Linked DNA regions of Homo sapiens: region 1 is linked to region 2. The links are contacts of gene promoters, found by promoter capture Hi-C in human tissues and cell types (Jung and others, 2019). All regions are on one chromosome and are shown on one strand. The core of a region is centred on a gene start or on the middle of the fragment in contact, and the rest is flanking DNA. Distances in the headings are between cores, read along the strand shown.

What was found. The method cuts DNA at HindIII sites, captures the fragments that hold promoters and counts their contacts. A contact is called where the count stands out against the background at its distance.
Region 1: a fragment that was not itself captured here is called in contact with the fragment with the promoter of SCNN1A in region 2 in 4 of the 25 tissues and cell types used here (liver, lymphoblastoid cells, mesendoderm cells and 1 more).

What each region holds. Positions count from the first base shown.
Region 1 is chr12:6,464,962-6,468,455 of GRCh38, forward strand. VAMP1 (vesicle associated membrane protein 1) reads right to left here. Exons shown (of 5, transcript NM_014231.5): 2 at 1,264-1,390; 3 at 881-1,039. It also overlaps a transcript of TAPBPL not described here. Among named protein-coding and RNA genes, the nearest start is that of VAMP1, 4.0 kb to the right of the region's middle. The HindIII fragment of the contact is 4,857 bases long and covers 1-3,494 here.
Region 2 is chr12:6,373,630-6,378,153 of GRCh38, forward strand. SCNN1A (sodium channel epithelial 1 subunit alpha) reads right to left here and starts at 1,934. Exons shown (of 13, transcript NM_001038.6): 1 at 1,876-1,934; 2 at 739-1,208. The coding sequence starts at 1,154. It also overlaps a transcript of LTBR not described here. RefSeq lists enhancers at 341-945, 2,762-3,366. The HindIII fragment of the contact is 22,523 bases long and covers 1-4,524 here.

The DNA of each region.
Region 1 (3,494 bases), core at 1-2,500, 91 kb after region 2:
AATGAGCCCTTGGATTTCAGGAATGAGGAAAAGAGCCACATCTCTAGTGGGAAACAGAATTCCTTCCATCCTTGGGACAATGGAAAAAACCACCCATCACCCAGGAGACCTGCAGGCCTCTTAGAGAGGCCCTACCCTTCTGCTTCCCAGGGGATCATAACCACAGTATGTCTGTAGCTTTTCAGATTCATCACAGGACCTGCATTGAGCTCCTTTTTGCTTAGTTCCTGGTGTCTTGGGGCTTTAGAAGGCATTCCAATAGAGATACAGACTCTGGATATTTAACCAATTAGTTCAATTTTCACTGTGAAGTGTTCAGCTCATTCTCAAAAGTTGCAGTTATTTAAAAATATATATTTCAATCTGAGAAAGCTGATTTAAAAGAAAAAGAAAAAAGTATATATATATATAAATGTATATATATGTATATATATATATAAATGTATATATATGTATATATATATATAAATGTATATATATGTATATATACATATGTGTATATATAGTGTGTGTGTGTGTGTGTGTGTGTGTATGTATATATGCCTGAGCCATTGTGCTGATGTTGGGTGTGTCTGAGGATGAGACAGGTGAAATTTTTTGCAGGCAACTCCTTTGGGGTAAAGCTCCTTAACTAACCATTCCAAACTCCTCAGGGTATCACTTTTTCCCTGATAGCGGTTCTAAATACTCTAGCCTACCCTGGTGGCCAATTCTGGGTAATGCAATCTCAAGAGGAGGCTTTCCAGATTTCCTCCCAAGCGTTATGCTGGTCAGAGAGATCCTGCACCATTAGAGGGAAGAAATGTAGAAGCTGAGGGTTTTCTTGCCTTCTACCAGTGGAAGCCCAGGAAAAGATGGAGGAGGGGACAAGAAAATTCACCTTGCAGTTTTTCCACCAATACTTCCTCTTTAGCTTGGCAGCACTGCTCTCAAATTGTGATGCTCCTGCCTGCAAGGCATCAGCTCGGTCATCCAGCTCTGACAGCTTCTGGTCCCTCTCCAGGACCTTGTCCACGTTCACACGTATGATGTCCACCACCTGAGGAGGGCACAGAAACAAAGCAGCTAAGCTTCCTGCCAGAGACAGAGGAAAGGACAACAACCAGAGAATCACAAGTCTGGCCCTGTGCAACTCTAAAGGGTGCTTTGCCTCTCAGGGCCTTTGACTATTCTCCTACGAAAAAAGGAGAAAAGATAAGAAGTTCCCTTTTGTTTCCAAACTCCTAGATTTGGAAACTTTCAGAGAAACAGCTATCTACCTACCTCCTCCACTTGTGCCTGGGTTTGCTGTAGTCGTCTGTTACTGGTCATGTTAGGAGGAGGGCCAGGGGGACCCCCACCTGGGGCAGTCCCTTCTGTCCCTTCAGCAGGTGGCTGAGCTGGAGCAGACCTGTGGAAAGACATGTGCAGAGTACACAAAGTGACCAAGACAAGAAAGGAGCTGGGCGTGGTAGCACACACCTGTAGTCCCAGCTACTCAAGAGGCTGAAGTGGGAGGAGCGCTTGAGCCCAGGAGTTCGAGGCCAGCCTGGGCATCATAGCGAGACCCCATCTCTAAAAAAACAGACAAAAAGAAAGGACTCACATGCATCCTCACCCCAAACCACTTAAACAATTATGATTAGGCTATACAAAACTAGAATGGATTCTTGCTCCTTGGCAATCTGAAGTAGGGAGACAAACCATAGAGGCAAGAAGTAAAAGATGAAAGACTCTGCAACAACATTTGGATGGGGTTCAGGGACATCCAGGATGGCATCAAGACATCTCATCTGGGGCTATCCTTTGACTCAACTCAAACAAGTCCTCTGCCATGATGGCTACAGGGACATATGGCCTAGCCTTGTCCTAAATGGCATTTCCCCGCTGATATGGTTTGGCTGTGTCCCCACCCAAATCTCAACTTCAATTGTATCACCCAGAATTCCCACATGTTGTGGGAGGGACTCAGGGGAGGTAACTGAATCATGGGGCCCATCTTTCCGGTGCTATTCTGGTGATAGTGACGAAGTCTCATGAGATCTGATGGGTTTATCAGTGGTTTCTGCTTTTGCTTCTTCCACATTTTCTCTTGCTGCTGCCATGTAAGAAGTGCCTTTCACCTGCCGCCATGATTCTGAGGCCTTCCCAGCCATGTGGAACTGTAAGTCCAATTAAACCTCTTTTTCTTCCCAGTCTTGGGTATGTCTTTATCAGCAGCATGAAAACAGACTAATACAGTAAATTGGTACCAGTAGAGTGGGGTGTTGCTGAAAAGATACCCAAAAATGTGGAAGCGACTTTGGAACTGGGTTAACAGGGAGAGGATGGAACAGTTTGGAGGGCTCAGAAGAAGACAGGAAAATGCGGGAAAGTTTGGAACCTCCTAGAGACTTGTTGAATGGCTTTGACAAAAATGCTGTTAGTGATATGAACAATAAGGTCCAGGCTGAGGTGGTCTCAGATGGAGATGAGGAACTTGTTGGGAACTGAAGCAAAGGTGACTCTTGTTATGTTTTGGCAAAAAGACTGGCAGCATTTTGCCCCTGCCCTAGAAATTTGTGGAACTTTGAACTTGAGAGAGATAATTTAGGGTATCTGGCAGAAGAAAAGACGCAGTACTAAAGAAAAAAACCATTTTTTTGAGAAGAAATTCAAGGCAGCTGCAGAAATTTGCATAAGTAGCAAGGAACCTAGTGTTAGCCCCTAAGACCATGGGGAAAATGTCTCCAGGCCATGTCAGAAGCCTTCATAGCAGCCCCTCCCATCACAGGCCTGGAGGCCCAGGAGGAAAAAGTTATTTTGTGGGCCAGGCCCAGGGTCCCCATGCTGTGTGCAGCCTAGGGACTTAGTGCCCTGTGTCCCAGCCGCTCCCACTGTGGCTGAGAGGGGCCAATGCAGGGCTCGGGCCGTGGCTTCAGAGGGTGGAAGCCCCAAGCCTTGGCAGCTTCCACATGGTGTTGAGCCTGCAGATGCACAGAAGGCAAGAACTGAGGTTCGGGAACCTCCGTCTAGACTTCAGAAGATGTATGGAAACGCCTGGATGTCCAGGCAAAAGTTTGCTGCAAGGGCAGGGCCCTCATGGAGAACCTCTGCTAGTGTAGTACAGAAGGGACATGTGGGGTTGGAGCCCCCACACAGAGTCCCCACTGGAACACTGCCTAGTGGAGCTATGAGAAAAAGGTCACCATTCTCCAGACCCCAGAATGGTAGATCCACTGGTAGCTTGCACCGTGCGCCTGGAAAAGCCACAGACACTCAATGCCAGTCCGTGAAGGGAGCCAGGAGGGAGGCTGTACACTGTAATGTCTGTCAGCTCACCCCTTTTTATATTCAAGTTATTGGTTATGGTTATTGGTTTATATGCCCAGTTATTGGTTATGCTTCACACAAGATGAGGAAATCAGGGCTGCCATAAGGGCAGCTTGGAAAATCACCAAAGGCAAAGTCTATGTAGGTGGAGTGAGTCAGGACTGTTTGTTTGCTTTGTTTTTGGCAGAGAAAATGGGGGTTTC
Region 2 (4,524 bases), core at 684-3,183:
CCCAACATTGGCAAAGAGCACCGATGAAACCCAAAAGTTCAGGACACACCCAAGCACGTAAAGGTCAGGCACCTGGGCAGGTCAACAGTGCAGCATTTTAGCCTGGGTCTTTTGGGGGAAGAGCTTCACAAGGAGCTGCTCTCTAGCCTGACCCATTCTCCTTGTTCTGTAAGGCCCCTGCCCCCAGCCTTTGGGCTCACTTGCAGCCCTAACCTCCACGATCCCCCTCTTTGCTTTCTCCATAATAAATTCCCCTTCTAAACAAAGACTGACAGCACCACCTCCACAGCACCTGCACGGTCTCGCCTCCCCTCACCTAGCCTCACCCCTCCATCAGACTCTCCTGCTGAGGTGGACGAGGTCTTATACTTTGCTGGCATCTTGCTCCAGAAAAGGGATGCAGCTGAGCACACCCCTGCCCTTTTGCAAGCACTCCCTCCCACTTGCAGGAGGGAGAAGGGAATGGGAGGGAAGGAGAAGAGAGGGCAGGGGAGGGCAATGCTGCTCCAACAACCACACTCTGGGTGAGCCTGGGGTGCTAGGATGGCTCCACTGGGCAGGGACGCCAGTCCAGTAAGCTGGAGGCTCCTCATTTTGCCAGCAGTGAGCTCTACCTGGGACAGGGGTGTCAGTTCCCACCCTCAGGTCTGAGGCTCTGCCTGCCCAGTGAGCACCTCAGCACCCTGGACCACCCTTCCAGGCGCAGGCACCAGGGAAGGGGCAGAGGGACTAACCGACCTGTAGGGATTGAGGGTGCAGATGGTCACTGCGGGGAAGACGAGCTTGTCCGAGTTGAGGTTGATGTTGAGGCTGACGGGGTAGCTGAAGTACTCTCCGAAAAGCAGGCCGAATTGCCAGTACATCATGCCAAAGGTGCAGAGCCACAGCACTGCCCAGAAGGCCGTCTTCATGCGGTTGTGCTGGGAGCACACCAGGCGGATGGCGCCGTGGATGGTGGTGTTGTTGCAGAAGAACTCGAAGAGCTCTCGGTAGGAGCGGTGGAACTCGATCAGGGCCTCCTCCTCCGCCGTGGGCTGCTGGGGCGCCGCAGGTTCGGGGCCCAGCCCCTGCTCCTCACGCTTGTTCCCCTTCATGAGCCCTGGAGTGGACTGTGGAGGGCTAGAGTCCTGCTCCTCCAGCTTGTTCCCCTCCATGAGACCTGGTATGGGCTGCAGAGGTCTAGGGTCCTGCTCCTCCAGCTTGTTCCCCTTCATGAGCCCCGGAGTGGATTGGGGAGAGCAAGGGTCAGGGTCAAGGCTGAGCTCTGGGCCCTGAGTGCCCTCTCCCATCACCCCTGGAACCCGAGTGAGGCTGCCCCTGGCCATGCCCATGTCCCACCCTGCGCCCACATTCTCCCACTCCTCCCTCCCTCCTCCACCTTTCCTGGAGCCAGCAGACCTGCGGGAGTTGGGGCCAAAAGTGCCGGAGCTGGGCTTCCCTAGAACGGCCTCTCCTCTGCTTCCCTGATAGGGCCACCTTTCGAGTTTTGTCCTAGCACCTCCCTTTCTGTCTCTGCCCCCTTCCTTTGGTCTTCTTCCTCCAGGATCTGTGTCTCAGCTCCTGCCTCTCACTCCCTCTCTATCTGCCTTCTGTTTCTCTTTGGGTCTCTCCTGCTCTCCTCTTTCTGGCCTGCCTCCTCTCTCTAATCCTGCCTCTCTTCCTCTCCCCCCCTTGCCTTGCCCCCTCTCACTCTAGGCCCTCAGCTCCAGCCTCTGGCCCTGACCTCGAGCTGTGTCCTGATTCTGTCTCTGCCCCAGGACTGCAGGGCTCCAGGAGGTCTGGGCTGCCTCCAGCTTCCCACTCCCAGGTTGCGGCTGGACTGGGACTGGTTCCTTTCCAGTTGAATCTGGCAGCCAAACCTCTCCTCCCCCTCACCTGACAGGTGCAGCGGCCTGGCTGGGGAGCCCGCCCGCTGGCCGGCCAGGGATGGAAGCGACAGGAATCTCATTAGCATCTCAATTAAAGGTGAGCAGGGCGGGGGGAGGGGCTGAGGAGGAGTCAGAGCCGGGAGTTTTCCGAAGGAAGGAGGGCTCCCGAGGGCAGGTGAACTGGGAGTACTGGACCTGAGAAGGCGGACTCTGGGCAGGGGCTTTAGACGCAGACAGGCAAGGAGGCTGGGGGACAGGATGGCAGGTGAGGGGCAAAGATCTGAACAAGTAGAAGGATCCTGAGCCCACAGCTAGGAGGGCAACACAAGGAGAAGGGGCCAGCCAGGCTGAGAGGGCCTGGGTGGGGAACCGGGAGGACAGGAGGGCAGAAAGAGGGAGACAATAGAGAGGGACAGCGAAGGACAGAGAGATAGGGATGGAGGAGGGGCACTGAGTGAGTAGAGGCAGGTGGGGGGCAGTGGTGGGGGCAAATAGAAGGAGCCAGCACCAAAGGGAGTCTGTCTCCAGGAAGGAGAGCAAGGGGGGAGTCCCAAGTGTGCTTCCAGGAGCTAGAGGCTCAGCAAGTGGGCAGCCCTCCAAGGGCACCCACAGGTCAGCCTCACCCTCAGGCCCTGCAGAGAAGAGAGAAGAGGTCTCTGCAGGTCTCCTCCCCGCTCACTAAGTGGGAGCAGCGCACTCAGGTGGGATGCGTCTGCCTCCTCCTGGTCCCTCCTCTTTCCTGCTGATTCCTCGCCACCCCCTCCAACCTTGTCCAGACCCGGGAGGGGCCCAGGTGAAGCTGGGGGCTAGGCGGGGCCCTAGGACATTCTGTTCTTTTTTACACTGTTGGCTGCCAGGCCAGGAATGTGTAATCGCCCCTGCTGTGGTCACAGAGTTGCAGGAATGTGGGCAACCAGAGGCAGCGCGAGGGCCACGCAGGACACTGTGGACACAGACCCGGAGCCCAGGAAGAGGCAGGGAAAGCAGGCACTGAAGGTGCAGGGAGGATGTGGCCAGCGCTGGAAAGGAAGAGGGTGGGCATGGCACACGCCTAGACAGGCCCTGGGAGGAGGAGAAATTCGTTGATGGGCTATATTTTCTCCAAAATCTCTTTCCAAACTTAATGCAGCAAAAGGATAAGGAGTGGAGTGCCAAGTGGTGAGCAAGGAGAGAGAGGAGGGTCAGAGAATCAGACCCAAAAAGGGCTGGAGGAGACTCGGGAGAGCCACCCACACAACCCAGGCCCTGCACGCGGCAGGGAAGGCTGCCGCTTCCTCACGGGCCCCACAGGAGGCAGCCCAGAGTGCAGGAATGTGGTCACTGGCTTGTCCTGCCTCCCTCCACAAGCCAGCAGACAAAGGCCCAGCCTGAGCATTGATACACACCGGGGGAGGAGATAGGCCTGCAATACAATAAGATAAGGTTTCTATTTGTACACTTTAAAAGATTGTCTTTAAAACGGACTTCTAACAAAAGTGCAGATCTCAGATTTCTCAGAGATAAGACATAAGAGCCAAGGGCTAGGGGAGCCTAGGGGCTCACTGCAGGAGACTCAGGAAGCCTTCCCAGAGAAGGTGTCATCTCTGCTGAATCTTGACAAGCAAGGAGTTTAGCAGGCAAAGAAGAGAAAAGGCAGTACTCCAGGCTCAGGGTCCAACCTGGTCTGTGGCTTCCTCTCTTGCGGCAGTCTCTTGCGACTTCTTAAAGTGAAAGCCGGTGTCAACCAGGATTCCAAACCAGGTTCCCTTGCTTACCTTGATACTGCTCATGATACCTCCCCTTGGAAGGGACAGCTGGATTTTTCTTCATTGTCCTAATGAAGAAACTGACCCTTCCCAAGGATAAATCAGTTTTCTGAGGTTAGAAAACAAAATAGGAGCAGAGCTATAAACAGAATTCAGAATTCTCCTCCTCCTCTGGGGCTATCTACTTAGCGCTTTTGCCATTTACTTCCTGAGACAGACTCATGGGGGATCGGGGCTCAGGTGCACCTGGATGTGAAAGCCGGGAAGGCCTCCCTCACTCCCACACAGAGCCCGTGGATTCGTCTGCTCTCTGGGTGCTGGGTTATCTCCTTGGCTCTGTGAAAAGGTCTCTGCACTGTCCCCACTGCCCCACATATCCCAGAGACCCCTAGAAACTCCAGTCTCCCTTGAGCCAGGTCCTTACATTGGGCATGGTCCTCCCTGCAATAAGGTGCTCAGCACCCTGGCTGTTTGATCTCAAAGGTTCTGAAAAGCACCTCCCTGCCTTTTCTATTTGCCAGCTCATGCCTGAAATCCAACCACTAGCTTAAGGCAGCATGGCAAATAGTTTTCATATCAAGGGCTCTGTGAGAAGAATTGCAATGCCTGGTCTGGGCTGAGCCAAAGGGTGGTGACCCTGCCACGTCCTGCCGGGTATGGGAGTGGCAATGCGAGCCTAGTGCTGCAGCATTCTAGACCTGGAGCGGGCTAGAACAGGCTTGGTGTTGTGAGGAAAATAGAAATCTGAGACCTGGACTTTGGTCAGAAGTCCATTTTAAAGATGATCTTTTAAAGTGTACAAATAATACACAAATATGTTTTTGTCACAGTACAATTTTTCAGCAATACAGAAGTATATAGAGCTTCCCTTAGTCCCCTTCCTTTCCCTCCCCAAAGGGGAGCCACCATAA